6 separate regions of the Homo sapiens genome follow, and regions 1, 3, 4, 5 and 6 are each linked to region 2. Evidence: promoter capture Hi-C in 16 types of primary human blood cells and fetal thymus (Javierre and others, 2016). All regions are on one chromosome and are shown on one strand. The core of a region is centred on a gene start or on the middle of the fragment in contact, and the rest is flanking DNA. Distances in the headings are between cores, read along the strand shown. Region 1 overlaps WDFY1 (WD repeat and FYVE domain containing 1). Region 2 holds the start of ACSL3 (acyl-CoA synthetase long chain family member 3). Region 3 overlaps WDFY1 (WD repeat and FYVE domain containing 1). Region 4 has its middle 2.9 kb from the start of CUL3. Region 5 overlaps WDFY1 (WD repeat and FYVE domain containing 1). Region 6 holds the start of MRPL44 (mitochondrial ribosomal protein L44).

What was found. The method cuts DNA at HindIII sites, captures the fragments that hold promoters and counts their contacts. A CHiCAGO score of 5 or more calls a contact.
Region 1: a fragment that was not itself captured here is called in contact with the fragment with the promoter of ACSL3 in region 2 in 1 of 17 cell types (M0 macrophages); the score reaches 7.1 in M0 macrophages.
Region 3: a contact is called between a fragment that was not itself captured here and the fragment with the promoter of ACSL3 in region 2, in 1 of 17 cell types (M0 macrophages). The highest score is 5.1, in M0 macrophages.
Region 4: a fragment that was not itself captured here is called in contact with the fragment with the promoter of ACSL3 in region 2 in 1 of 17 cell types (fetal thymus); the score reaches 5.3 in fetal thymus.
Region 5: a fragment that was not itself captured here is called in contact with the fragment with the promoter of ACSL3 in region 2 in 1 of 17 cell types (M0 macrophages); the score reaches 5.1 in M0 macrophages.
Region 6: the fragment with the promoter of MRPL44 here is called in contact with the fragment with the promoter of ACSL3 in region 2 in 4 of 17 cell types (naive CD8 T cells, naive CD4 T cells, fetal thymus and 1 more); the score reaches 7.3 in naive CD8 T cells.

What each region holds. Positions count from the first base shown.
Region 1 is chr2:223,888,052-223,892,964 of GRCh38, reverse strand. All of the region lies in intron 8 of WDFY1 (WD repeat and FYVE domain containing 1), which reads left to right. Among named protein-coding and RNA genes, the nearest start is that of AP1S3, 53 kb to the right of the region's middle. The HindIII fragment of the contact is 1,440 bases long and covers 927-2,366 here.
Region 2 is chr2:222,858,557-222,863,286 of GRCh38, reverse strand. It overlaps ACSL3 (acyl-CoA synthetase long chain family member 3), which reads right to left and starts at 2,251. Exons shown (of 17, transcript NM_004457.5): 1 at 2,029-2,251. RefSeq lists silencers at 1,756-2,125, 2,196-2,525 and an enhancer at 2,242-2,536. The HindIII fragment of the contact is 2,380 bases long and covers 441-2,820 here.
Region 3 is chr2:223,911,488-223,916,000 of GRCh38, reverse strand. It overlaps WDFY1 (WD repeat and FYVE domain containing 1), which reads left to right. Exons shown (of 12, transcript NM_020830.5): 3 at 3,675-3,748. Among named protein-coding and RNA genes, the nearest start is that of WDFY1, 32 kb to the left of the region's middle. The HindIII fragment of the contact is 1,128 bases long and covers 2,300-3,427 here.
Region 4 is chr2:224,585,797-224,590,671 of GRCh38, reverse strand. No RefSeq gene overlaps it. Among named protein-coding and RNA genes, the nearest start is that of CUL3, 2.9 kb to the right of the region's middle. RefSeq lists a silencer at 4,836-4,875. The HindIII fragment of the contact is 1,243 bases long and covers 2,689-3,931 here.
Region 5 is chr2:223,937,927-223,942,484 of GRCh38, reverse strand. The region is part of intron 1 of WDFY1 (WD repeat and FYVE domain containing 1); the gene reads left to right. Among named protein-coding and RNA genes, the nearest start is that of WDFY1, 5.1 kb to the left of the region's middle. The HindIII fragment of the contact is 3,092 bases long and covers 702-3,793 here.
Region 6 is chr2:223,954,902-223,959,707 of GRCh38, reverse strand. MRPL44 (mitochondrial ribosomal protein L44) reads right to left here and starts at 2,245. Exons shown (of 4, transcript NM_022915.5): 1 at 2,057-2,245; 2 at 1-174. The coding sequence starts at 2,235. RefSeq lists an enhancer at 2,161-2,330 and a silencer at 2,401-2,470. The HindIII fragment of the contact is 10,687 bases long and covers 136-4,806 here.

The sequences.
Region 1 (4,913 bases), core at 397-2,896, 1.0 Mb before region 2:
ATTTTAGATCATGAGGGATGTTAATGACTTATAGTTTAACTTCAGAAATATTTGTTGGGCACCTACAGGGTGTCCTTACAGTCGGGAAACTCAAGTGAATGTATTTAATAAATGGCTTATTGATATTGCATTGCAGTACCTACTGTGTTGCATGACATCACATGATCTGTTCAGTATCCTGTCCTTTATGGCAATATGTTGTTCAGTGTGCTGTGCACCATTGTAATAGACATTATGCGTTGATGCAGAATTCCCACCAGTCCCTGCACATGTGTCTGCTTTGTGTTGTCTCTGATTCTTTGTGAGTCTGATTCTCACTGATTAAACCTTCATTTTTAGCATATTCCAGTAGAAGTGATCAAGGGGCTTTCATCTATTTTTTTTTTAAATGGTGACATTACTCATTTCCAGACTTTATGGCTACTGTACACAAAGATACTTGCCCACAAGAAATGTGTAATCTAGTGGAAGAAATAGACTACCCTATAAATAATAAAATGCAATCCATAATACAGAGACGTACTGATTGTGAGATTTTTTGGTAACTTTGTAAGACAAGTCAGATAGAGGAAATTTGGATTACATGTCTGCTGGTTAATTTCTCTTTTTGAATTTTCTAAAAATTATTTGGTAAGGCTTAGAATATTTTATTATTAAACACAGATACATTGGCTCAATAGTATAGGATGTGGCCAGCGCAGTGGCTCATGCCTGTAATCCCAGCGCTTTGGGAGGCTGAGGTGGGTGGATCACCTGAGGTCAGGAGTTGGAGTCCAGCCTGGCCAACATGGTGAAACCCAGTCTCTACTAAAAAATATAAAAATTAGCCAGGCATGGTGGCAGGTGCCTATAATCCCAGCTACTTGGGAGGCTGAGGCAGGAGAATCACTTGAACCCAGGAGGCAGAGGTTGCAGTGAGCCAAGCTTGCACCACTGCGCTCCAACCTGGGCGACGAGCAAAACTCCATCTAAAAAATATGTATATATATATATAAATTATAGGATGCATAATACTATATTTGCAAAGATTTATTCGAACTGTGTTTTACGTTTATCAGCTACTAGTTATATGCAGCAAGAAAAGCTAGTAAACTGTTCTTGGCTCTTGGCCTATTATTTTTCAGTCTTATTCTGAGAGAGCGGAAAACTCAGAGAAAGGCTGTATTCCCTGGATGATGAGGGGAGGAGACTGTTGGTGCCCAGCACTGCTGGTGGCTTTCCCGAGGGTTTCACAACTTAGATTTTAACCTGCTCTTTTTATCGTTGGTAAATTCTTTTAGAAAAAGTACTTAGAAAGTAGAAGTGGGATTCCTACCGTCAAAGTGCATCACTGTGGAGTGTATTTCTCTATCTAGGGAAAGAAAAAATAGTCCCATCAATCAAGGCATTTCCTGTGTGCACAATTCACTGCGTCTGTAGAAGAGACAGGAAGGCAAATTGTGTCAAAAAGATGCATTATTTTTAGTGGGTTTTTTTGTTTGTTTGTTTTTTAATAACTGAGAAAATGTATTGCAAGGATAAACAGGCTATAATCTATAAGGTTCTGACCCTGCCTTAGGATTTTTGGGCTTTTTTTTTTTTTGAGACGGAGTCTAGCTCTGTCACTCAGGCTGGAGTGCAGTGGTGCGATCTCGGCTCACTGCAACCTTCGCATCCTAGTTTCAAGTGATTCTCCCACCTCAGCCTCCCAGGTATCTGGGGTGACAGGCTTATGCCACCATACCTGTACCTGGCTAATATTTTATATTTTTAGTAGAGACAGGGTTTCACCATGTTGACCAGGCTGGTCACGAGCCCCTGACCTCAAGTGATCCGCCCGCCTCAGCTTCCCAAAGTGCTGGGATTACAGGCATGAGCCACCGTGCCTGGCCTTTAGGGTTTTATAGGACTTTCTTAGACCAGGGCATAGAGGATTGATCCCAGATCCTCTAGCTCTGCAATGCTTGCCTGGAATTTCTCTCCAAGTCCCCTGTCAATACTAACTGGAGCATTTACTACCCACTGTGGCTTCAACCACTACGCTGTCGAGTTGGAAGCAGATTTGCTTCCCTGCCAGATCATAATGAGAAGGGATCCTTTTTTGGAAGTAGGCACAAAATATAAATGAGGAAGTAACAATAATTAGAATGAATCTTCTTGAAAAGAGAACTTTATTTTAAAACTAGTAGGTTACAGAATGTATAGCATTTTATATACTAGTGCAGTGTGACGAGTGCAGCAGTTAGTGGCAGTAGAGCAATGGAATTTATTCTTGCCATATCTTTGTTCAGATTTGGCAGGTGCAAAAAGATGGAGAAAAGAGAGTGAAGCAATTATAATAACTGATTAATACTCTCTCTTGCTCTTCTCAGCACAAAACGAAAGCTTCTTCTTAGATAATAAGTATAAGGATGGCTCATGTTAGCTTACAGTGTAATGCTATATTCTGAGTATTAAGTGAAATAAAGTTAGGGGTATCTCTTATATTAAAATATGTTCTAAAAAGCTATTTGTTTCTGATTTTGATTTTAATTTGTTATCTCAAATTTTTTTAAGCATATATTTTTGTCACTGCAACCTCTGCCTCCTGGGCTCAAGCGATTCTCGTGCCTCGGTCACCTGAGTAGCTGGGACTGCAGACATGTGCCACCATGCCTGGCTAATATCTGTATTTCTAGTAGAGACAGGGTTTCACCATGTTGGCCAGGCTGGTCTCGAACTCCTGGCCTCAAGTGATCCACCTGCCTCAGCCTCCCAAAGTGCTGGGATTACAGATGTGAGCAACTGCGCCCAGCCAAAGTAATATTCTTTCTTAAACCTGTAAACAGAATCATGCTCCCTGAGGCAAGAGCTCAGATCTGTAGGTTGCCCTAGCCCAGGACCATGTTTGGAGACCCCCATAGGTAGAAGTGGATAGGCCTCATATACAGAGGCTGTGTGGAGCATAGGGATACACAGAGAGAGGCAGGCTGGACTCCTGGATCTGCCCAGGATCTGCGTGTACTCATTGACAGTTGCTTTAATCTCTGAGCCAGTTTCTTTGCCTGTAAAATAGGGATAGTGTTGCTCGGTATCTCCTAGGACATAATGAAAATTAAGTAGAATAAAAAAACATGAAACACTTGGCACATTGCCTGGACTTAGATGTCACTTATTGTATGCCACGTAGTATTCTGAACACTTCCCAAATATTAACTCACTTAATCCTCACAACCTTATGAGGTATATACTACTGTTATCCCATTTTACAGATGTATTAGTCCATTCTCAGGCTGCTAATAAAGATATGCCTGAGACTGGGTAATTTATAAAGGAAAGAGGTTTAATGGACTTACAATTCCACATGGCTGGGGAGGCGTCACAATCATGGTGGAAGGTGAAGGAGGAGCAAAGTCATGTCTTACATGGAAGGCAAGAGGGCATGTGCAGGGGAACTCCCCTTTGTAAAACCATCAGATATTGTGAGACTTACTCACTACCAGGAGAATAGCATGGGAAAAACCCACCCCCATGATTCAATTACATCCTACTGGGTCCCTCCCATGACACATGGGGATTATTACAATTCTAAGTGAGATGTGGGTAGGGACACAGAGCCAGACCATAACAGTGGATAAGGAAACCTAGGCACAGAGAAGTTGAGTCACGTGCCTGAGGACACTGCTGACAAGTGGCAGAGCCAGGATTGGAAGGCAAGAGATCTGACTCCTAGACTTTGTGACGACTTGCTACGAACCACTTGCTATGAACCACTTGCTATGACTATTAGAAATGAATTGAGAGGCCAGACACCGTGATTCATGCCTGTAATCCCAGCATTTTAGGAGGCTGAGACAGGTGAATCCCCTGAGGTCAGGAGTTCGAGACCAGCCTGGCCAACATGGTGAAATCCCAACCCTACTAAAAATACAAAAAATAGCCAGGCATGGTGGCAGACACCTGTAATCTCAGCTACTTGGGAGGCTGAGGCAGGAGAATCACTTGAACCCAGGAGGCGGAGGTTGCAGTGAGCCAAGATCACGCCATTGCATTCCAGCCTGGGTGACAGAGCGAGGCTCCATCTCAAAAAAAAAAAAAAAAAAAAGAGTTGAGAATTTAGGCCAGGCACGGTGACTCACGCCTGTAATCCCAGCACTTTGGGAGGCTGAGGCGGGCAGATCACTTGAGGTCAGGAGTTTGAGACCAGCCTAACCAACATGGTGAAACCCCATCTCTACTAAAAATACAAAAAAATAGCTGGGTGTGGTGGTGGGCACCTGTAATCCCAGCTACTCAGGAGACTGAGGCAGGAGAATTGCTTGAACCCGGGAGGCAGAGGTTGCAGTGAGCCGAGATCATGCCAACGCACTCCAGCCTGGGCAACAAAGCAAGGCTCTGTCTCAAAAAAAAAAAAAAAAAATTGAGAATTTAAAAATGGCTTATCTGTATTTATTTTTAAAATCCTTGCTTGAAATTGAATCACTTGAAAACATTAAAATATTAGGAAATCCATTGATGTACTGCTTAACAGACATTGCTGGAGATAGAGGCCTTTTGTGTTAAAGGAATGCTCTGGGTAATTGAAACATAATTCAAATGCCAGCCCCTTATGAAGACAATCACTTTGATGAAAATGTACAGCTGGGCACAGTGGCTCACGCCTGTAATCCCAGCACTTTGGGAAGCTGAGGCAGGCAGATCACTTGAGCCCAGGAGTTCAGCCTGAGCAGCTTGGAGAAACCCTCTTTGTACAAAAAATTTGCTGGGTGTGGTGGTACATATCTCTAGTCCCAACTACTAGGGCAGCTGAGAGGAGGGAGGATCGCATGAGACAGAGGTTGAGGCTGCAGTGAGCCATGATTGTGCCCCTGCAGTCCAGTCTGTGTGACAAAGCGAGACCCTGTCTCAAAAAAAAAAGTGTAAATTTAATGTAATTTACTAATTTCTTGATGATG
Region 2 (4,730 bases), core at 1,002-3,501:
AAAACAGCTCCCTAGACTAGATTTCCATCTACATCACAATCTTGCTCATAATCCTCATTCACACAATACTTTTCCTTCATCGTACCTATCAAACTTGCAACCACCTATCCGTTTGTATGACCATTTGCTTCTTGTCTATTTTTCCCTCTATTCACAGCTGTATTCCCAGCACCTAATAAGGTGCCTGACATATCACAAAAATTAAATGGCTCTAGGTGAGTCAATTAATCAAATGAGGAATGAAACAGTCACTTAACTGGAACCAAACAGCAGGGAAACACAAAAGCAAATGAAACAGACCTCGAGGCTTTAAGATCTGATTCTCACCCCAAACCAGACAGAGGATGATTTTCCCCTTATAATTTGTGCGTTCTTCATTTCTCCCATTCTTCCTTTCTTCCTTCAAGGAGAACATTTTAGACCCTCAGAATATTTAAGCTTTAAGTCACTGAGTCTAAAGCCTTACAAATTCAGTAACTGAGATCCAAAGATACGAGGTGACTTGTCACCTTGACCCTTAGGTCCAATGGACCACTCTGCCCCACACCCAATGTCATCCTACAAAACCAATATTTTTATACAAAAGAGAAACCAGGAAAAGTCTAGAGAGAAAACGCATGCGACAATTAGAAGGCTTACTCATCCCCAAGTGTGAGGAACTGCCCAGAAAAATGCCAGAAAACAAAATCAAGTCTGTGCAAAAGATTCCCATGTCACACCACCTGTCCCCTATAATACCCTTCTAATACACTTTCAGGAGCAACTCATCAGCACCCTTAACTCTCAGAACTAATTTGGGGAAACAAAATAGGTTGATAAACATGAAAGAAGGTATCATCAAACTACAACTCTCCTGGCCACCCAGACTAAAATCCACTGTGGAAACTATTCAGCCAGCCACCAAGGAGAGGCAGCAAAATATAGTGCTTAGATTTCAGAGCTCTGGATTTACACAGGCCTGTCTGAATCCCAGCTTCTTACTAGCTGAGATCTGAGGCAAGCTAAGTCGTCCAATCTGCAGTTTCTCCCGCTGTAAAATGGGAATAACCCCCACCCCAGAGGACTGTTAACAGTGTGAAGACACTGTACATAAAGCTCTCCAAACAGTGCGTGGCATGTAATAAAAGCTCAATAAATGTCAGCTATTTGTCATTCTTTTCAGCTATAATTTCGTTCACAAAGCCTACTGCCTTTCTAGCTTCCATATAATTTTAAAGACATTCCTCCAGCCTTTTCATTTTCGAGGGATCTTTTATACAGCAGCTTAGAGCACACTTTCTAGTATCAGACTTCCTGCGAAAACCATTTGAAAACCTGTGCCTCGGGCTCCTCATCTGTGAAACGAGCCTGATAACACCTACCCCACAGGACTGCTGGTAGTAAGCAGTCCCCGAGTTACCCAACCTATCAACAGTATATGATTAAAACGCACTTGGGGAAAAGCAAAGCTGCAACTCTCAAACCCCAAACGACAGTCTTAATCCCAGTCCCACCACCACGATAGTGCCCAGAACCAATCACCAAGGTCGACCCACCTCACGCACCTAGTTTCTTCTCACCCCACGCAGCAACAGCCCCTCCCGCCCCGCCAAACAAGGGTTTTCCGAAATCGCAGGGCTGAGTCTCCTTCCACGGACACCGCACTGCTGGGGCCGCGGCAGAGCCCTCTTAATTCAAGGGGGTGGCCTCCCCACCCCGCCCCACAGCGCCGGGAGGCACGCAGTGCATCCTCCCTGCCTGGTCAGCGCCGCCCCACGCCGTTCGCGCTGCAGCTCCCGGCTCGCGTGGGCTCAGGGCCGAGGCCCCACGTCAGCCGCTTCCCGGACCCCAGCGGGCCGCCTCCCACCCTGCTCGCCGCTGCTCCTGGTGCCGCGGGCCGCCCGCGCGCACACCCAGCGGTCAGGTGCGGCGCCGACGACAGGGTCCCAGGCCCCGAGGCTGGGGAGCCCCTCGGGCCCAGCCGAACCGCACGCGGAGGCCGCGCCGCCAACCGGCTCCCGCCGCTCCCACAACCGGCGCCGCACTCACCGCTACGCCGGAGTCCGGGTTCCTCCGGCCTCGGGCCCGCGCAGGCCTGGCTGAGCCCCAGAGCGTTCACGCCCCGCGCCGCCGCCCGGGGATCCTGGCGCAGCTGTCGGGGCCGCAATGCGAGGGGACGAACGTATGCGACCCCGTCCAACGCCTCCTCGTCCCGGCCCCGGCCGCGTAGACAACTGCAGTGTCGCAGCCCGGCGCAGCCACAGCAGCGTCTGTTGAGCGGAACCGCCTGGGACGCTCACCCCCGGCCGGCACTCGTTGCCTATGCAGAGAGGCTGCCACCCATTGGCCCGCGAGCGGTGGCGCGTGCGGGGCTGGGCCTATCGAATTCGGGCCGGGGAGCGCGGCGCTGGCGGCCCGGGGCGGGGCGAGGTTACTACGGGTCATTCCGCGGAGCCGCCGCGGACCGGACCTGGCTGCAGTCTGCGCGGGGCGGGGGCGGGAACGGGGTCGACCAGGAGGGACGGACCGCGGGTGGGGGAGGGGAGCGGGGATCTGCGGCAGCGACGTGGGAGGAGCGGCTAGCCCAATAGGGTCTGCAGGAGCTCCGTCCCTCCAGGAAAAAACACCCCTCCACCAAAAAAAAAAAAAAAAAAATTACAGTCGCACAATTATTGCTGTAATGTATAAATTTCAATATAAATTATGAAATAGTATGCATATTCTTTTTCGTTTTTAACTGGATTAGTTATCCCGTTCTTGCAGAAATTGCTGTCAAATCCTGCCAAATAAAATGGCTTTTGGAACTGCCTGGGGCAAGAAGAGCCTCAAAAACTCAAAGCTTATCCATTATCATTTCTCTTGTTTTGGCCTCACTTGACCTAGCATATAACCCGTTTTCCTCTAAATGCACTCACCATGCAAATTTGCTATTTCTTTTCAAAAAATAAAGTTTACTCCAAATTATTGTTTTTGAACGTTCTTAGGAATCCACAGTGGTTCTGTATTTTAAGGAGTTTGCCATTGTTTCTCGTTTTAGACACTAAACAAGGATAAGAAAGAAAGCATCCAGTGCAGGTAGTAGAACTACATGTACTGTAAGAGAGAAGATTTTCACTCACCCAGTACTAGTAGGATTGGTCTCTTTTTTTAACCCAACATATTGTTTAGTTTGCCTGTGAACTTTTCCTTAAGTAGGTGAAAGGTTGCCTTCCTGAGCCAGCCTCAGGCTAAAGCAGGCCTCATTTCCCAAGAGAATCAAAATCAGGAAGCCGCCAGAACTTGAACTAGGTGGAGCGATGATGCACCAAGCAAAGAGAGCTCACTCACCGTGGGCCAAGGGCCAATCGAGAACCTAAAGGGATGGATACCTGACTCAGGCAAACTGTTCTCCCACTTCAAAATATGGCAGTTCAGTTGCTCATTAATCTGTTGAAATCTTATCAAAGGATACATCCTGAAGATAAATGGAATGCAGAATTTCTTATCTGAAAAGACATTCGCAGCTCTGCAGAGAGAAGCAGGCTTTAGAAGTAGTACTTCTAGAACCATGAAATCCTCTGGAAAATACTGGTTTTTTTCCGAGAGAAGAAAACTAATATTGCACCTTTTTATCTATCCATAAGCCTAAAACAGACTAGAAGAATTCCAACAATATCTTTCTTCATTATCTTTATATTATGGAATATATATTATGGATATGGACCTATATTTAAAAGAAAATGGTCCTGGGAATTAAAATTCTAAATTCTCATCTTGTTTGCTGTTTAACAAGCTAAGTAGAAATACATAGAGATACTTCAGAGACATTGTGGGTTTGGTTCCAGACCACTGACACTTAAAGGGAATATCAAAATTAAGTGAGTCACATGAATTGTTTGGTTTCCCAGTAAATATAAAAGTTATGTTCGCCGGGAGCGGTGGCTCACGCCTGTAATCCCAGCACTTTAGGAAGCCAAGGCAGGCGGATCACCTGAGGTCAGGAGTTCGAGACCAGCCTGACCAATATGATGAAACCCTGTCTCTACTAAAAATACAAAAATTAGCCAGGCGTGGTGGCATGCGCCTGTAATCCCAACTACTCGGGAGGCTGAGACAGGAGATCGCTTGAACCTGGGAGGCGAAGGTTGCAGTGAGCCGAGATCGTGCCATTGCACTCCAGCCTGGGCAACAAGAGTGAACTGCATCTCAAAAAAAAAAAAAAAGTTATGTTCATACTATAAAGCGTGCAATAGCATTATATTTAACAAAACAATGTACATATCTTAATTTAAAAATACTTTATTGCAAAAAAAATGCTGGCAATCACCTGAGTCTTCAGCAAGTTGTAATCTTTTTTGCTGGAGGAGGGTCTCACCTCAGGGTTGATGGCTGCTAACTGATCAAGGTGATGGTTGCTGAAGGTGGGGATGGCTGTAACAATTCCTTAAAATAGACAACAATGAAGTTTGCACCATAGGTTGACTCTTCCTTTCACAATTTCTCTGTAGCATGTAATGCTGCTTCATAGCATTTTGCCCACTGTTAAACTTCTTTCAGAATTGGAGTCAATTATCTCAAATCGCCGAGCGTGATGGCTCAAGCCTGTAATCCCAGCACTTTGGGAGGCCGAGGCAGGCAGATCACGAGGTCAGGAGTTCGAGACCAGCCTCGCCAACATAGTGAAACCCCATCTCTACTAAAACTACAAAAATTAGCTGGGCATAGTGGCACGCACCTGGAGTCCCAGCTACTCAGGAGGCTGAGGCAGAATC
Region 3 (4,513 bases), core at 1,614-4,113, 1.1 Mb before region 2:
CATCTCTTCTGTTACCCATGTCTGCATGTACTGTGGATGCGTAACCTTGGTTCTCACACTAAATTCTCACCTTGAGATATGAAGTAACCAATGTCTTAGTGAAGGTGCTTATGGAGCCTGTCTGATAAATTTACTTTGGAAATTTTGGCAGCAGGGCAGAGATAGGTGGGACATCCTGGGTCTCTGAGCCCACCTGTTACCCAACCTGCCCCAGTCTCCCAAAAAGACTTCTGTTAGGCTAACTCCTTACTTTCCAGTGGCCCAGAGATAGATCTGAGAGTTGGAAGTAGCAACAGCCTGAGGAACGCGTATCAGTGCTGGGAAATGTTTTGTCATCATTGGGGAAAATTTTGTTAATACTATGGCTCTTATGCTTCCCACTCTTCCCTTCCTCCATCATTAGCATTTTGGTCATAGCTTAATCTCCCTGAGTCCTTAACCTTGAAATTCATGCTCATTAGAATAGAGACAGAGACTAGAGGGATTTTGTCCCATATTTGGTTCAGTTACTCCTTGACTTGCATTTCCCCCAAATAGTACAACTTTGTAATTAATTTCTCTCCCAGGACACCAAAACCTAGCAGTAGAAATGTGTGTGTTCTCTTGGCTGTTAGATCTCGGGCAAGTGGCAGTGGATCTCTCTGTCTTCAGCCTTTTCTAACTTGGCTTAACTGTCCCCTCCTGAAGGAGCTTCTAGCTCAAGAAGGAGGAACTTGAAAGAACAGACACAGCTTCGCAGTGGGTGGTCGACACCTACATGTTTGTATCTGCACATGTTCAGTGTGTTACTTCTAGATGCTTCTTTATTGCTTCTATTTGGACCTGTATCTGCTGATAAAACTGCAGATACACCACAAGAAGAAAACAGAGTGAATGCATTGTGAGAAATAACTGCATGTCTGTTTTAGAATGACTTTTTATTTCAAAATTAAATTTAGGATACAAAAAGAAGGATGCCATGTTAGTTCTAAAAGCTATCCGCAGATTATCCAATTTAGGATGTCTTAGTGGTTATATCCACCAATTTAAACTTTTTCCTGTGACTTGACAGAGTGATCAATAAGCCAAGCCTTAGTATATTGCTATATGCAGTCCAATTGTGTTCTATAACATTACCTCACATAAAAAAAAAACTTTCAGAATCTGCTTTAGCTGAAGAAAAATGGTAACTCTTGGCTTCTATCTTTACTGTGTACTTCATGCCTTTTTTTGGTAATATAATTTTATGAAACCATCACAACAGCTATGCAAGGCAGATAATATTTTTACCATTTTGTGAATAAGCAAGCTGAGGTTAGAAGGGTTGATTGCTTGTCATTGGAATTCCAATCCATGCTCATCTATGACTCCAAACCTATGCTTCTCACCACAGTGATGGGTAGGTCTACAAACTTTTTATGCAAAGGGCCAGACAGTAAACATTTGGACTATGTGGGCCAATCTCTGTGGCACTTACTCAATTCTGCCTTCCTATCATGCAAGGAGTCATAAACAAGACATAAATATTGCATGTGAGCAATCATAAGTTATATATAAATGTAGCATGCAAGCAATCATAAATGAAAGGGTTTATGTTCCAAAGGAAAAAAAAACTATTTATTAACAAAACATGCAGTCAGCTGAATTTGGCCTTCTGGTGTGATCCAAAGTTTTAAACATTTGATTTTGGACTGCAGTGATGGCTTTTTAAAAGTTCATTGACTTGGCTGGGCATGGTGGCTCATGCCTGTATTCCCAGCACTTTGGGAAGCCGAGGCAGGCTGATCATTTGAGGTCAGGAGTTCGAGACTGGCCTGGCCAACATGGTGAAACCCTGTCTATACTAAAAATACAAGAATTAGCCTGGTGTGGTGGTGGCTGCCTGTAATCCTAGCTACTCAGGAGGCTGAGACAGGAGAATCGCTTGAACCCAAGTGGCGGAGGTTGCAGTGAGCTGAGATTGCGCCACTGCACTCCAGCCTGGGTGACAGCAAGACACCATCTCAAAAAAAAAAAAAAAAAAAAAAAGCTAACTGATTTGAAAGATGATTCCTATTTTGCTTTATATCCAACCCCTCCCCTTCTACATTAAATTTATATTGCTTATCTCAGTTAGAAACCTCCTTTCTAGGGAGAGAGCCAGGATATTACTATATAATACAAAACAAACTAAGGAAGCCTTTTTTTTCTTTTTGAAATGTTATAGTTGTCTAGCTTCATAAAATTACCCAGCACTTTGTAATTTTTACACAAAAGAGGGATTTTACATATTTATGTTGTTTGTTATAGGGTTGGGCATTAAAAAAATTGAAAAGAAGCTTAAAACTAATGCATTTAGTGCCAGCTAGAAAGCAAGCAAAAATGATGACAGTGAATCTCTGAACGCATCAAAGCATGATTTGATTTGTCAAAGATAAGTGTATGCATGGTTTATTAAAGAACATTTTGATTGTATAAAGATATGTATATATATCTTTGTGGTCATAATACTTGATCGTTCTTTTAATCTCAAACATCACTGTGTCAGATAAGGGTATACAGGCTCATAGTCAATTCTAATTGTTTTGTGCACAATTTCAGTACGTACCTTTCAGAGCCAACTACATAGTTCTTGGATGCAACTGAAACAGTCTCTATGGTCTGATCATGCAGTTAGCTATGTTTTTGCTTTGGGGTACGATCCAGTATTATAGTTTACTTCCTTCCTTTGGTGAGGATATCACCCTACTAGAGAGAGAGAACTTTATATTCAAATGGTGACTTCATTTAAAAGACGTTTTTTCTTTTATCTTTTTTTTTTTTTTTTTTTGAGATGGAGTTTCACTGTGTTGTCCAGGCTGATCTCAACTCCTGGCCTCAAGCAATCCTCCTGCCTTGGCCTCCCAAAGTGCTGAGATTACAGGCATGAGCCACCCTACCCACCCGTCTTTTATGAGAAGTTTTATTCCAAAGTGAATTCAAATTTGTTTGTTTTGTTTTGTTTTTCCCTAGCATGCATTTCCTTGTTTTGGTTCTTCCATTGCTAATTAAAATTCCTTAGGCTGAAACAAACCCACATTTTTTTTCCAAATGTTCCAATTTATAAATCACTTTAATTCTAATTTTTGGTAAAAGACAATTTAGAATTTCTCCTTTCTGAAACTCATTCTCTAGCCTGTGATTTCTGGAAGAGGGTAGGGTAGAACATGGAAGGAGGACAAGGAAACCTGTCTGCACTTCACAACTCACATATGCCATATATCTGCACCTCACATATGCTCACTTATGCCATAGAATGGGAATTCTGGTGCTGGGAACCCATCTTTGCACAGCTACTCTTTGACATTTGATGGGAAGGGTGGCAGGGGCGGGATGACCTCCTGAGCTTTTGGGCAGCAGGTCACACACTACAAGCACTGGTCCCCAAGGCTTGCCAGACTACAGGTAGTACTTTCAGTCAGATGAAGCTTCATGCTGGCTCACTTCACCCAGCATTATAGAAACAACTGAGAAGATTTGTGAAATCAAGGTTTTAAACTAAGACAACAGAGAGAACTTTAATAACATTTTCAATTTACGTAATTTGTATAAAACGTTTTTACCCTCTTTCTGTGAACCTAAATTATATAGTTCTTATCATATAGTTCTTAATCACTTTGAAGAACAACTTAAAGTGCTTAGCTTTGCTGGTAATGTGGTCTTTGTCTTTCTGGCAGCTCCTTGCTCTGCTATGGCTTACCATCATGACAGCAGACGGATATTTGTGGGCCAGGATAATGGAGCTGTAATGGTAGGTAGCTTTTAGAATGTATTTATTGTATTCTTTATATTATATTCTTTATATTGACCTCCCATGTCCCATATTGGCCAGTTAACTTTGGATTAACAATGGATGCTCGATTGTTTGGCATGAAAAATGTTTAATTTAGGCCAAGCACAGTGGCTCACATCTGTAATCCCAGCACTTTAGGAGGCTGAGGCGGGCGGATCGCTTGAGCCCAGGAGTTTGAGACCAGCCTGGGTAACATAGTGAGACCTCATCTCAACGAAAAATCAAAAAAATTAATTGGTAGTGGTGCATGCCTGTGGTCCCAGCTGCTTAGGAGACTGAGGTGGGAGGATGGCTTGAGCCCAGGAGGTCAAGGCTGACAGCTAGCTGAGATTGCACCACTGCACTTTCGCCTGGGCAGCAGAGGGAAACCATGTCTCAAAAAAAAAAAAAAAGTTTAATTCAGTATAGATATTAGGTCAAAAATGGATTAAATTATTGCTTAATTTTAAACTAGTTCCTTGGAGCTCAGAATGCTGTCGTAATTGATAGCTGGGTGCTCGGGCTGACCCACAGATCATAGCCTTCATAGAGTGAATACGTCACCTATAGCAGCCCCCATCCCTTAGCCGTGATGGTGGAGAGCCTCTGTCACTCTGTGTGTGTGTGTGTGTGTGTGTGTGTGTGTGTGTGTGTGTGTGTGTGTGGTCATTCAGCTAGCAACTCACAGAACTCTTTAAGGCAATACTTCTCAAACTATCTTTGGCAAAGGACCTGATATTCAAG
Region 4 (4,875 bases), core at 2,061-4,560, 1.7 Mb before region 2:
GTTGCTGGTTTTATCCTAACAAGGTGTCCACTTGTCACACTATTTCAGAATTGCCCATTAAAGGGTTTTTTTTTGCCCAATATCTAGCCATGCAAAAATTAGAGGACTCAGAGACCAATAACTTAAAAATCAACTTACTCTAGGAATTCATTTGTCAATTTCAGGCTAGAAATAGGCCCCAACAATTTGTTTTTGTTTTTGTTTTTGTTTTTGAGATGGAGTTTTGCTCTTGGTGTCCAGGCTGGAGTGCAGTGGCACGATCTTGGCTCACTGCAACCTCTGCCTCTCGAGTTTCAAGTAATTCTCCTGCCTCAGCCTCCAGAGTAGCTGGGATTACAGGTGCCTGCCACCATACCCGGCTAAATTTTTTTGTATTTTTAGTAGAAACAGGGTTTCACCACATTGGCCAGGCTGGTCTTGAACTCCTGACCTCAGGTGATCCTCCCACCTTGGCCTCCCAAAGTGCTGGGTCTACAGGCGTGAGCTACCACGCCTGGCCTGGCCCCAAGAATTTTTACATCTTTTAGTCTCTTAAAGGTTCTTTTCTTTACGAGGGCTCCTTCTCTCAGATTCTGATTTCTACCAGTTCTAGATATAAGAGTTAAGAATATAGTTTTATTACGAACTGAAGACAAAGAGCTTATTAAAGAAGTTTAAAGATAATGCCATTGCCGGGCGCGGTGACTCACATCTGTAATCCCAGCATTTTGGGAGGCCGAGGTGGGTGGATCACGAAGTCAGGAGTTCGAGACCAGCCTGGCCAGCATGGTGAAACCACATCTCTACTAAAAATACAAAAAAAGGAGCCAGACATGGTGGTGGGCGCCTGTAATCCCAGCTACTTGGGAGGCTGAGGCAGGAGAATTGCTTGAACCCAGCAGGCAGAGGTTGCAGTGAGCTGAGGTCCCACCACTGCACTCCAGCCTGGGCAAAAGAGCGAGACTCCGTTTCAAAAAACAAAAAAAAGATAATGCCATTTTATTACATTTGTCCACTGTAGTATTTATAATTCATACAATTACTAAATCTAACATAAAATTTAGACCATTATTTTTATAGCTCTTTTGGCACAATGCTTTATCTCAACTCCAAAATTAACTTACTTCACAAAGACAGAGCTGATGAGTTACAAACTTCAACATATATTTTACTTGTCATGAATGAAAGCAATACATACTCATAACTGTCCCCTAGAGGTTTCTTGATACATTTACTGTTACAATGGTATTAATAAGAAGAAATTCTTTTTCTTTGAAATAAGATTACATAGAAGCCATGCCTATATTTTTAAATTGAGAATCTATATTATGTTCAATTGGGTTAGTTGGTTGTATAGATATTTTTATTTACAAAATGTTAATTTATTGGGTACATGTGGAATAAACAGACTGTCCAAGCCAACCAGAACATTTCCAGAGCTGCCAGGGAGATGATTTTCTTTTGTATGACCATATGATGAAATACTGAGATGGATTTTTATGATATAATCAGACATTTAACATTTTTTAGTTTAAGATGTAACGTCTCATATGCTTATGTGTCTCATATGCTTCTTGTCTCAATAATATAAGAAAAATTTTAAGGACACAGTAGAAAAGTTGCATGGAGAAGGCCTACAGTTTTCACATATTTAAGCATCTGTGGTTATGTTCTCAATGGGGTATTTGCCGACAATGTCATCTTATAATGCACATACACATGCTACTACCCTAAATATATACAACTCCATATCTAATGGCCTATAATACTTATTAGTTGCCTGGTAGAGACAAGAAAGTAGAAGATCTAGCCCTTCCATTCCAAGAGCTGATAATATCTATACATCTTTGCCTTCCAACTTAAAAACATTTTCTCTCTCTTAACATAGTCTTGGTCTACTCAAAACCATTGAACGGGTCTTTCAAATTGAAATTGTAGGCTTTGAGCTGTTTTAACAACCAATATCTGTACAATAAAATCAGCAGATCTGAAACATTGATTAAAGTGACTTGGTATCCCGAGTACCTAGAAACTGATGGTCAAGAAGAGGCTATTACTTCCTTTTACCAGCTCCTCACATCTTATATTGCTCTTTCACAGACTGGGATGTAGAAAAGGGGCTGGCCCACCCAACTGCCTGATCTCTCTGAATGCATGTGCTCCATATGCATAAATGGAAAGAATAAATGGAAATGAGGCCACTGTTTTCCTGTGTCAGGACACTGTCAGCATGAGTAGGAATACCAATCGCCAGCCATGCAAGATCTAGTGAGTTCCTATTCCAGTGCTGCTTTCTCTGCTAGATCAGGTGGCAGTTTGCAGAAAAGCAACATCCTGAAAGTTTATTTGCTATTTGCAAGTCAGGGAATATGACTGGGCACAGAAAAATAATCTACTGCTGCTTCAGAAAGTATTTCATAGACATTCTGAGGATGTTGCTTCCACAGGAAGGAAAATATCTGATTTCAGAACTGAAGCATATACAAAGTTGGGGCCAAATCCAATATGGGTCTGTGGTTTACAAACTGTGAGATGTGAAAAAGGATGTGATGGCAGGTCCCATCTGTCTCATTCACCCTAGTTCCTGACATACAGTAGCCATTCAATAATAATTATTGAATAAATGAATAACTGAACAAATAAATGAGCAGACTTCTTAATGACAAAATCATTTTGAAGCATTTTTCTGATCCTTGGTGGTTAAAAGCTTAAGGGAAGACACAGTTCACAGTGATGCTTTTAGACGCAGCTAAATTTTGGTTAAGCAACACCAATATACGAAAATCTGGGTTCACAAAGCAAATACATTACAGTTACTATACTTACTATATGCTTTACAATTAAGTAGAAACATACCTTAATGTAGTGGGTTTCTAAATGCTGGCCCATGATGTCTCCTTAGGTTCACAGTGAAATAAGAAAAATTCGTGTGACGTATTGTTCATTACGAGGCTGTTCAATTCAAGGAACTGTCCTTTATTCAAAAATGGATCTTCCCTCATTTCTGAGGTTAAAATACTTTTTAATAAATGATGGGAATAATCTATGCTAGTTGTTCCTTTTTAATACCCTTGCCAATATAAAGTTGCCAAATCTATAATGACTCCCTAGCTTATCAGAAAATATTTTATTAGTCTGAGAGATCCAAATGTCGGAGACTGGCTTAGTTTCAAAATATGACTCATTTTATAAAAGCATACAAGTGTTTTTTGTTGTTGTTGTTTAGAAACCTACCTATTGAATAAAGGAAGTAGTATAACCTTGGCTTTAATGCCCATGTTAATAACAGCCAACAGGTGGTAAGTTGCTGCTCCATGCCCAGTTCTCAGGGCTCTTTAAAACGTATTCATCTATTTAAATTTCACGGTAGCCCAAGGAGGAAGTATTGTTATTGTCTCCCTTTTACAGATGAGAAATTCTGGGGATTGTCAACTCCATGCCCCAAAAGATGCAAAACACAGCTAGTAAAGTGGCAGAATTGAGATTCAAACAATGGCTCCAAGAACACATATTCTTTTTTAAAATATTTTTTTATTTCTTTTTTTGGTTCCTCAGAGATCCCTATTCTGAACATATATTCTTACATTACAAAGAAACTGGGCCATATGAGAGTACAACCAAGAGAAAAACATTGTTTGTTATTATATTATGTTATGGAAATGGAGGTTCAATTAGCATAGAGATTATAAACTCCTATTCAAGGCTGACATTATCTTACATTGAAGTCAGAGCCTCTCCCAATCTTAGTTTATCAACTCAGTTCTTGATAACCTATTTTTAGCTTCAGTATTTACAGATATTGTCTTAAGCAACATTCTTGTTTCTTAAGCTCCTGCTTTAATTAGCCAATACCAAAAAACTCCCACAAAAAAAAAAAAAAAACAAGAAAATATGGTATTTGCAGTGGGGCGTTTTAAGCAAGAAGGGGCTTTAAGCACAACACTCATAAGCTTAGTCATCAGGATTAAGTTAATTTAGGGCAAATTCAACCTTACAGTCAACAAATAAGTGTATTTCACTTTATATTGTTTGCTATTTAAAAGTATTAAAATTCCAGCTTCTAAATGTAGATATCCATCCCCCAAACATATGCTTCTTTAAAATAGGAAGAACACAAACTTTAATAAGAACTCACGTATTCCCTTGCAGAGTCAGAAACCCAAACATAACAGCAATTGGGCAAGTAGGTAAATGAGGAAGTACAATTCATAACAAATGGACAGCAAAACCGATAAGTCAAATTAGACATTTTGACTATAAAGCGACCAAACGCCTCTCCTCCAAAACCAAAAGCCAAAACCTTTTCAAATATACAGCAACTGAATCAGACGGTAATTTTGGCTTTAAAAATCTACAATACTCTTGGTAATGGTAGAAATGATTTATCCGGTAGGTTAAAGATAGGTTTCTATCATTCCACTTAACATTATTTACCAAATGCTGCATTTCATTAATGGAGCTGTCAGTTTATTCTGATGGTAATGAAAAACAGGTTTTAACATGAATAAGCCCTGGGTCCACCAGAAAATATCAGTGAATCAAGAGGTCCCGAAGCTTATGCAGTTTAAGGGAACTTCGTAGATTAAATTTCCACCTTCCAGTCCTGAGAGCTGTGGTGTGCACACCCAGTCCGAATACCTTGTTGAGCATACAGGACACTAATTTCCGACACTGCAGCTAACTCCTGCACAAACTCTTCAAGTTGCAGGCTTCTACTCAAGTACCCATCCCTAGTCCACATGCCCTAGAAAAACACAGGAACCAGTTCGGGACGTAGTTACACATCTAGCACCCCACGCTCCTCCTCAAGACTATCCTCCTGCTGTCCCAGCCCAGTGGGGCCCAGCCCACTACCATCCCGCTCCCGCTCTCCGAACTTCCCCCCTCCCACTCCCC
Region 5 (4,558 bases), core at 998-3,497, 1.1 Mb before region 2:
GCACTTTGGGAGGCCGAGGCGGGTGGATAACAAGGTCAGGAGGTCGAGACCATCCTGGCTAACACGGCGAAACCCAGTCTCTACTAAAAATTCAAAAATTAGCCAGGTGTGGTGGCAGGCGCCTGTAGTCCCAGCTACTCGGGAAGCTGAGGCAGGAGAATGGCGTGAACCTGGGAGGCAGAGCTTGCAGTGAGCCAAGATTGTGCCACTGCACTCCAGCCTGGGCGATAGAGCCAGACTCCGTATCAAAAAAAAAAAAAAGTTAGCAGCCTTTATTCGGTCAAATATTTTATTCATGAATCATGCGTTTTGGGTAAGTTGCTAAATATTTGAGATTGCTGGTCAGGAGCAGTGCTGATAAATGTTTTTGGAAAGTGATTACTAAGCTGCTCTGGGACTGAAACGTTCTGGGGGAGCTTGCATCTGCTCACTTTTTCACTCGTGCACCACTGTTATTGCAGAGCCCAGGTAGATGACTGGACCAGGATGGGGTTGGCGTTTGAGGTTTCTGTTGTGTTCAGGCTCTTGCAACTTCCTTGAAGGGAGAACAACCTTTTTAGTAGGTGCTACACTTCATGAGATGTAATGAAAGCACATGGGCGTGGGTTTTTTCTTGGTGTTAGCCATGGTGGTTTGTTTTCACATTGTCATAAATACGTGTCACGTTCTTCACTCATTTACTCATTCATTTAGAAAAAGCTTTTTTATTGAGTGTCAGGCCCTGAGGACACAACAGGGGTCAAAAGCCACACTACCTTGGCCAGGCAAGGTGGCTCACGCCTGTAATCCCAGCACGTGTGTGGGGCCCATGCTAGACCTGTGGGGGAGAGACAGCTGACAGCTAAGTTGCTCTTTCCCAAGGGCTGAACAGTCTAGTGAAGAGATGGCCCCTATGTATTCAGCATCCAGTGCTGGGAAGACACAGGAAGAGGAGGCTCTTTGGGCTGGGGCCGGGGTTTGGGGACAGCCTCCTAGAGAAGGTCGTTGAGCTGGTCTTCATGGATAGAGGAGTGGCATCTAGAAAGGAAGGAGGGATGCACCCTCATCCCAGGCAGAGGAAGGAGGAAAGGACAGGAGGGAATTGTAAGAGGGAAAGAACCATAGCTATTTCTAAGTGACCAGAGCAAAAGGTGGGCAGTGACAATAGCAACAGAGAAGACTGAGAGCTAGAAGGACCCAGTGTCCGGTTTTGTTTTGTTTTTTAAATTAAAAAAAAAAAGTTTTTGGGGGCCAAGTGCGGTGGCTCACGACTGTAATCCCAGCACTTTGGGAGGCCAAGGCAGGCAGATCACCTGAGGTTAGGAGTTCAAGAACAGCCTGGCCAACATGGTGAAACCCCATCTCTACTATAAATACAAAAATTGGCTGGGTGCAGTGGCTCACACTTGTAATTCCAGCACTTTGGGAGGCCGAGGCGGGTGGATCACCTGAGGTCAGGAGTTTGAGACCAGCCTGACCAACATGGAGAAACCCCATCTCTACTAAAAATACAAAATTAGCTGGGCGTGGTGGCACATGCCTGTAATCCCAGCTACTTGGGAGGCTGAGGCAGGAGAATCACTTGAACCCAGGAAGCAGAGGTTGAAGTGAGCCGAGATCATGCCATTGCCCTCCAGCCTGTGCAACAAGAGTGAAACTCTGTCTCAAAAAACAAAAACAAAAAAACCCACAAAAATTAGCTGGGCATGGTGGCACACACCTGTGGTCCCAGCTACTTGGGAGGCTGAGACAGGAGAATCACTTGAACCTGGGAGGCGGAGGTTGCAGTGAGCTGAGATCACGCCACTGCACTCCAGCCTGGGCAACAAGAACAAAACTTTGTCTCAAAAAAAAAAAAAAGAAAGAAATAAGGAATTTGGACCTTATTTTGCAGGCAGTGTAGAACCATCAAAGAGTTCAAAACAAGCAAATGATATGATCGGAATTTGTAATTTAGAAATAACAATAGCTAACCTGTTGAAAGTCCCTTTTCTCTACGAGTACAGAATTGGACCTTATGTGTTATTGGATCCAATCCTCACACTTCCTCCCTATAAGGTAGGTACAGTCACCTTCTCTTATCAGCAGTTCCAAAATTTAGTGCATTCTAAACGTCAGAAGTGTGTATGTGTGTGTGTAAATTGGACCTGAAAACTCGTTTGGTGCTAAAATTTGGCCTGAACAAATGAGACTGTTTGTAATCTTTATTTACTGCATGCATCACAGTGGCATGATCTTGGCTCACTGCAACCTCTGCCTCCCAGGTTCAAGCGATTCTCCTGCTTCAGCCTCCCGAGTAGCTGGGATTACAGGCACCCGCCACCACACCCAGCTAACTTTTGTATTTTTAGTAGAGACAGGGTTTCACCGTCTTGGCCAGGCTGGTCTTGAACTCCAAACCTCGTGATCCACCCGCCTCGGCCTCCCAAAGTACTGGGATTACAGGCATGAGCCAGTAGCTTTTTACATTTAAAGTAGGGTCCAGCTGAAGTGAATTCATTTTACAAACGCTAAAAGCAGTGAGAACTAGCTGAGAGCATTTTGAGAAGAAAAGTGAAAGGTATGAAGGTTTTCCTGAAGTTAGTATCCACTTTTGTAAAATCTAGGCCAGTGGTTCTGGGCCAGGGGTGGTTTTCCCACCCAGGGAACATTTGGTAATATCTGGAGACATTTTTGGTTGTCATGATGTGGGGGAGGTGATATGGTTTGGCTGTGTCCCCACCCAAATCTTATCTTGAATTGTAGCTCCCATAATTCCCATGTGTTGTGGGAGGGACCCAGTGGGAAATAATTGAATCATGAGGGCAGTTTCCCCCATACTGTTCTCGTGGCAGTGAGTAAGTCTCAGGAGATCTGATGGTTTTACAAGGGAAAACCCCTTTGGCTTGGTTCCTATTTCTCTCTTGTCTGCTACCATGTAAGACATGTCTTCTGCCTTCCACCATGATTGTGAGGCTTCCCTAGCCACATGGAACTGTGAGTCCATTGAATCTCATTTTGTTTATAATTACCTAGTTTCTGGCATGTGTTTATCAGCAGTGTGAAAACGGACTAATACTGTATGTAACTAATACTGGCATCTAGGTAGAGGGTAGGGATGCATCTCAGTATCCTGTTATGCCCCACACCAAAGGATTATTGAGCCCCAAATGTCAATAGTGCTGATATTGAGAAACCCCAGTCCGGGCTTCATGTACTTATCTGGCCTCTCTAGAACACTGGTTCCTTAACTTGAATGTGCATCAGAATCACCTGGGGGTCTTGTTGAAATTCGGGTTGCTGGACCCCACCCCCAGAGTTTCTGATTTGGAAAGTCAGGTGGGGCCTGAGAGTTGGCATTTCTGCCAAGTTTCCAGGTGACGTTGATGCTGATGCTGCTAGTCCAGGGACCACACTTAGAACCACGGCTCTACAAGAAAGGAGGGTTATTTGTCACTGTGCTTGCCTATGTACAACCACCAAGAAAGAATACTGAATACAGAAATTAGCCAGGCATGGTAGTGTGCACCTGTAATCCTAGCTACTTGGGAGACTGAGACGGGAGGATCACTTGAGCCCGGTAGGCGGAGGTTGAGGTGAGCTGAGATCGTGCCACTGCACTCCAGCCTGGGTGACAGACCAAAACCCTGTCTCAAAAAAAAAAAAAAAATACTGCTTACATTTTATCCTCTTTTTTTTTGTCACCTTCTGGGATATATTTACCTGGGGTCATTCACAGATAGCCACCTAGTTCACTGTAATCAAACTGCATATGACAAAGCTAGATACGGTCAGCACTCCAAAGAGTATTAAGCCAATGTGGAATATCAAAGCTTAATGCCATTACACCTGGGAGTCACAGGTCATTAGTGGTTTGGGTGGTCAGCTTAGGGTTCTGCTTAGAAACCTTTATGGATTAATGTCTCGTGAATGGTTAATAGAAAATGGTACTACTTCTTGTATGAAGTCATTAGTATTTTGCTGAAGTAATAATTACCTTAAGCTCTTTAATTTAAATTTAAGTTTAAGAATTTGAACTACAGTGGTGACTTTCCTGGTAGGGGAAACAGAAAATAAGACTCTGCTTTCAGAGCGGAACTAAAATGGTGAGACAGTAGGAACCAGTATGTTTGCTTTTTGGACTTTTTTGCTGTGGACTGCACCAAAAATGTAGACAGTCAGTTGATTGAATGATACAATTTTTAAAAGGTAAAAGCTTTATAAAGCCTTATAAATAAGTTAAGGCTATAGGCCTACTGTCTTCACTTTTGAGAAATAGAGTTTGTGGATGGACGTACTTATACTGTTGCATTAGGGGCTCGTAGGCCAAGATTGGTTTCTGCAGGAAACTCAATTTTGTTTGTCCCAAGTTAAAGATAAATCTCATGTGATTTAAAATGTTTTGAGATGTTGCACTTAGGCTGGGAAAGAGTAAAGATTACAGAAAACCAACTTTTAGATGTTTTTTAGCATTTTCCTTTTTTAAAAATTATACCAAATATGTAATATATTTGCTTCCACTTAGATATATCTAAGTTTATTAAGATGGTTTGGGGAAAAATTTGTGTATTTACCAATTGTTCACATAGAAACAATCTTA
Region 6 (4,806 bases), core at 996-3,495, 1.1 Mb before region 2:
TTCAGAAGAACAGCTTCTTTCTCTATCCCAAGTTGTTGGCGTTTGGCCTCCTCACTTTTAATATAGCAGCTATTAACAAATGCAGTTTTGAGAAGATCTAAGGAAAAGTTTTCCTGTAACCGATGTCCAAAAGCTTGTATTTCTGCATGGTAATCCCAGTTCGGCTTCTCTGAACTGAAAATGTAAAGACAGTAAGAGATGGTAAAGAGAACAACCTGTTACTGTGATATAAAAATTGTTCACTGTGTTGTAATGTTATTAATTATATAAAGGAAATGAAAGAAGGTTATATTTCTTTTTAATGCCAGGTTGATATTCTAAATGTTAAGACTAAAGTCAGATAAATACTGGCAGTCCTTTGCTATATTCTACATATATGACTGGATTAATTTTCCCTTTGATCCAATTGTCACATGAAATTGGTTCTTCAATATAAAAGACCAAGCCATTAGCCTAACTTTTAGGTTCCTTATTTCTGCTCTAACCATGATACTATGTTTTATACCTAAGTATGAAGCATAAATGTTAATTTCACAGATTCAAGCCATAAACACTAGTATGTTATATTTGCAGTCATCCCTCAATATCTGTAGGGGATTGGTTCCAAGGACTCTCCTGGATACTGAAATTCATGGATGCTCAAGTCTCTCATATAAATGGTGTAGTACAGGCACACTTCGTTTCACTGTACTTCGGTCTATTGTGCTTCACAGATTTATTGCATTTTATTTTTACAAACTGAAGGTCTGTAGCAATTCTGCATGTGCTCACTTTGTGTCTCTGTGTTACCATTTTTTAGCAATAAAGTATTTTAAATTAAGGTACATATATTGCTTTTTAGACACTACTACTGTACACTTAATAAACTACAGAATAGTATAAACATAACTTAGGTATACACTGGGAAACTAAAAAAGTCATGTGACTCGTTTTATTGTCGTGGTCTAGAACCAACCCTACAATATGTATGAGGTATACCTGTATCTGCATATAACCTATGCACATCCTCCTGTATACTTTAAGTCATCTCTGGATTACTTATACGTAACACAATATAAAACCCCTTTAAGAAACAAAGGGAAGCAAAGTATGAAAACCTAGGTTGAAAGTCGTAAGATATACATATAACATATACACCTATATAATCTGTCCAACCCATAAAGTTTCTTCCACCTTTGAGAGCCTAAAATACTTAATCTTATAATAAACAAGGGAATGGGAATTAAGAAGAGATTTTATTTTTTGCTATAATCTTCTCTGTTAGAAGACCGTTCCTACTGGTAGGAGTACAAAGTGGATCAACATTTTTTGGAGGGCAATGTTAAAGTACTAATAGCTTTCAAAATTTCATACTACACATGCGTCCCCTTTACGCGCTGTTACATAGGTTTTAATGGCAATAATATGGAGCTCATAGGCCCATATATACAGAGCCATAAAAAAGAGTGAGGTACATATCTTTGTAATACCATGACAACATGTCAAACACACATTATTAAAGAGAAAAAGCAAGATGAAGGAATTTAAATTATGTAAAGTATGATCTGGTTTGAAGCTATAAAAACCTGTGTCTCTCTCTGCCAAACCTGTTACCAGAACAGCATTAATTAGGGCAAAAATCTAAAGCTAACTTTTTTTCCTTTTACTCTAGACAGCAGAATTCAGGTTGTAGATTAATTTTTTTTCTCCTTAATTTACGATGCTGTGGGCTGCTTTCTTCCCGCTTATCGGAATTCTCAGGCATTACAAACGGGGACTACAACATCCAAGTCCACATAAGGAAGACCCTCCAGTTAGCCCCATTTCTCCCAATTTTCAGTAGCCAAAATCCTAAATGGTAGTTTCAAAACGTCGGGAACAGCCCGAAGCTCTACCGCCCGCGGCACAAATCCATTTTTTTTGCCTCAGGCCCCGCGCCCACAGCTCACGGGTGTCTCCATCGCAAACTTCCTAAGGCTTAACCCAGGGGCGCATCAGCCGCAGACACGACGCCGCGGGAAGAAGACCCAGTGTCTGCGACCGCCACCCTGAGACCTCTTCCCGAGGTGGCTCCTACCGGCGCACGGGCGGCGGCGGGCACCGCAGAAGGCGCTGCCGCTCTAACTCCTTCTGGAAGCGGAAGGCGGCGCGGAATCCCTTCTTCACTCCCCGAACCGGAGGGACCAGCTTGGGGGCGACTGGAGCCAGGAGGCAGCGATGTCCCTGCTGCAGCAATCTTACCAGCCCGGACGCCATTGCACGAGAGAAAACGATGGAAGACGGAACGAAAGTAGTCGGGCCAGTGTCCCCGTAACACACTTCCCCCGGAACCCGGAACGCGGAACGCGAAGAGAAGGCTGGGGCGGAGACAGCCCCCGGGGCGGGGCGACTGAGAGAGGGCAGGGGCGGAGACAGCCCCGGGGCGGGGTGATTGCGGCCGCCTTGAGGCTACGCTTGCGCTAGTTCTCTCCTCTCTTCGAGTTACTTTCCAATGATCCGGACTTGAGGGCGTTTGCGCCCAAAAGTTTCTGGGAGAAGTTGCTTCACCCTGTCACTCTCTTGTTCCTTCCTCTCTCGTTACAGCAAAACAAACAAAAATCTGTTTCGCTTTCAGGTTAAGGAAACATTTAAATCCTCAAAAAAAGAAAACATTTTTAATTTATATTTAGTGTTCTAGGCCACTACTGAGCAAGTATTTACCGAGCTTCTATTTTTGACCCAGCACGCCTCCAAAAGCCTTAGTTTTGGAAACCCTAGACTCAGAAATGTTGGCTTATCCAAAATTAAAATTTTTCTTTAAAAGCAATCTAATAGTACATATTTTTAAACATCCGGAAAATGACTGGAAAAAAACATAAAACGGTAATAGGGGAATTACAGTTTCTTCCTTCTTTATGTTAACACTCTTTAACAATGTAATTCTATTGCTTTCCTACCAAACTGTTAATACAGTACAATTTTTAAAAGAACATATTAAGTCACAAAGGGAGGCTTGTTTGAATTCCCAGTTTTGAGTTGCCTGCTGAACATCTAGACCCTCAAAGGGGCAATGCTTTCTGTGATCTCTTTGTTAAAGGCATCTGTGTCCCCAGCAGTCACCCAGATTGAACTCCTATGTCTTTGATTGTTTTTGTTTCGACAAACCCCCTCTTCGGTGCAGTTTCCACCAAGTGCTTTTTCCATTTATTTCCACTGCAGGTACCTGGTGGCTCTCCTCACCTCTTTCCGTGGTTAGTGTAATTGGCCTGGTACCTTCCTCCCTTCCCCAGACACAGCTCACCTACATTCATCTCTCTGAAACACAGACCACAAAGCATGTTATGACTTAGCCCGAGAATCTTCAGTGCCAGGATCATAGAACTCAATTTGGGTTTCTCAGCTTGACCATTTCAAAAGGGAGAATCTAAATGGTTCATCTCAGCTTATAAAAGGGTTCCCTTTGGGGAGGGAGAGAGCAAAAGAGGGGCTGAGCACACACCAAAAAACAAACTGATGGATTTCTGGTTGAAGGAAATTCTCCAAGAAGGGGTGAAAGGAGGTTACGATTGACCTTCTTGTTTCAATGTATGTAAAGTATTGAAAATTCATGGAACATCAATCCAATAAATGGATTAGGAGAAAATGCAGGGAACTGTCATTTCTGTAGAATTTCATTTATTAGGAAAAATAATCTAAGCCAGTTGTAGCACAATCATGTTAAGTTAAAATGAGGTGTCTCTGTGTTGAGAGTTTCTCAGTCATACAACAACGAGAGCATCATTTGCAGATTAAAAAAATGTAGGTCCTCAAAAGATTTCTTCTACTAATGCCCTTCATGGAACTTAGGAATTAACCAGTTTTTTAAAATCTGCTCATACATTTGTCTATTTATTCAATAAACACATAATAGGAGGAGGACTTGGTTCCAGGATCCAGGCTCAGAAAACTTTAAGGAAGAAAAAGGCCAATGTGTTTTTCAGCCCTCAAAAACCTGATTTTTCCTTTAACCTGCTGTTAGCCCTAATTTGATCAAAGCTCACAGATGTCAACAACTTTCGAGTTTTCATTGGGTTAAGGTCAGGTGGAAGGGTGGGGAAAAGTCACACTTAGGAAGAGGAGGTGAGGCGATTGAGGGTTCACTTTAACCCTTGGGGAACACAACCTTTTGTGTTTTGATGCCAGGGATATTGCTTATATATTCCTTCAATGATGGTGAAGGCAGCTGGAATACGGGGCACAGAAAGATGGATAACAAAGTTAGTAAGCTCTGCTATAGGACCTTCCTGAACAATCAAGCAATTCTGAACCACCTGGGATTACTCACCACTACTTCATAGATTAGCTAAGGAATAACTACCAAATAGTGGCCTTTAATCCAACTCACAAGGAAAATTACAGACAGAAATAATTACCATAGAATGAAAATTACTATAGTTAAAACTGTTCAAAATACAAAATTGGAGTTACTGATAAATATCGATATAGAATCAGTCTTCACCAAAGTTACATCTGTTCAACCTAGCTTTGGAAAATTTGACTTGATGGAAAATTTGACTTGATAGATCTAAAAGCTGCAACAGAAAACTCATGATAGTAAAACTGATTAGCAAAAAGCCTTAGTAAACCTGAGCAACAAATAACATCTTAGGAAATAAATGTGGAAAAAAATTCATGAAAATACATTAAGCAATAGAAACATGAAAATACAATTAGAAATAGGATACTTGTGCTGTATAGAAAATTGATCAAGAAATTTAATTGGTTTCATGGAGCTTATTCCAGAAAACATTTTCTCAAAAAAAATGCATCAATGTTAGTATAATTCTGTTATAAACACTTTAATTCATA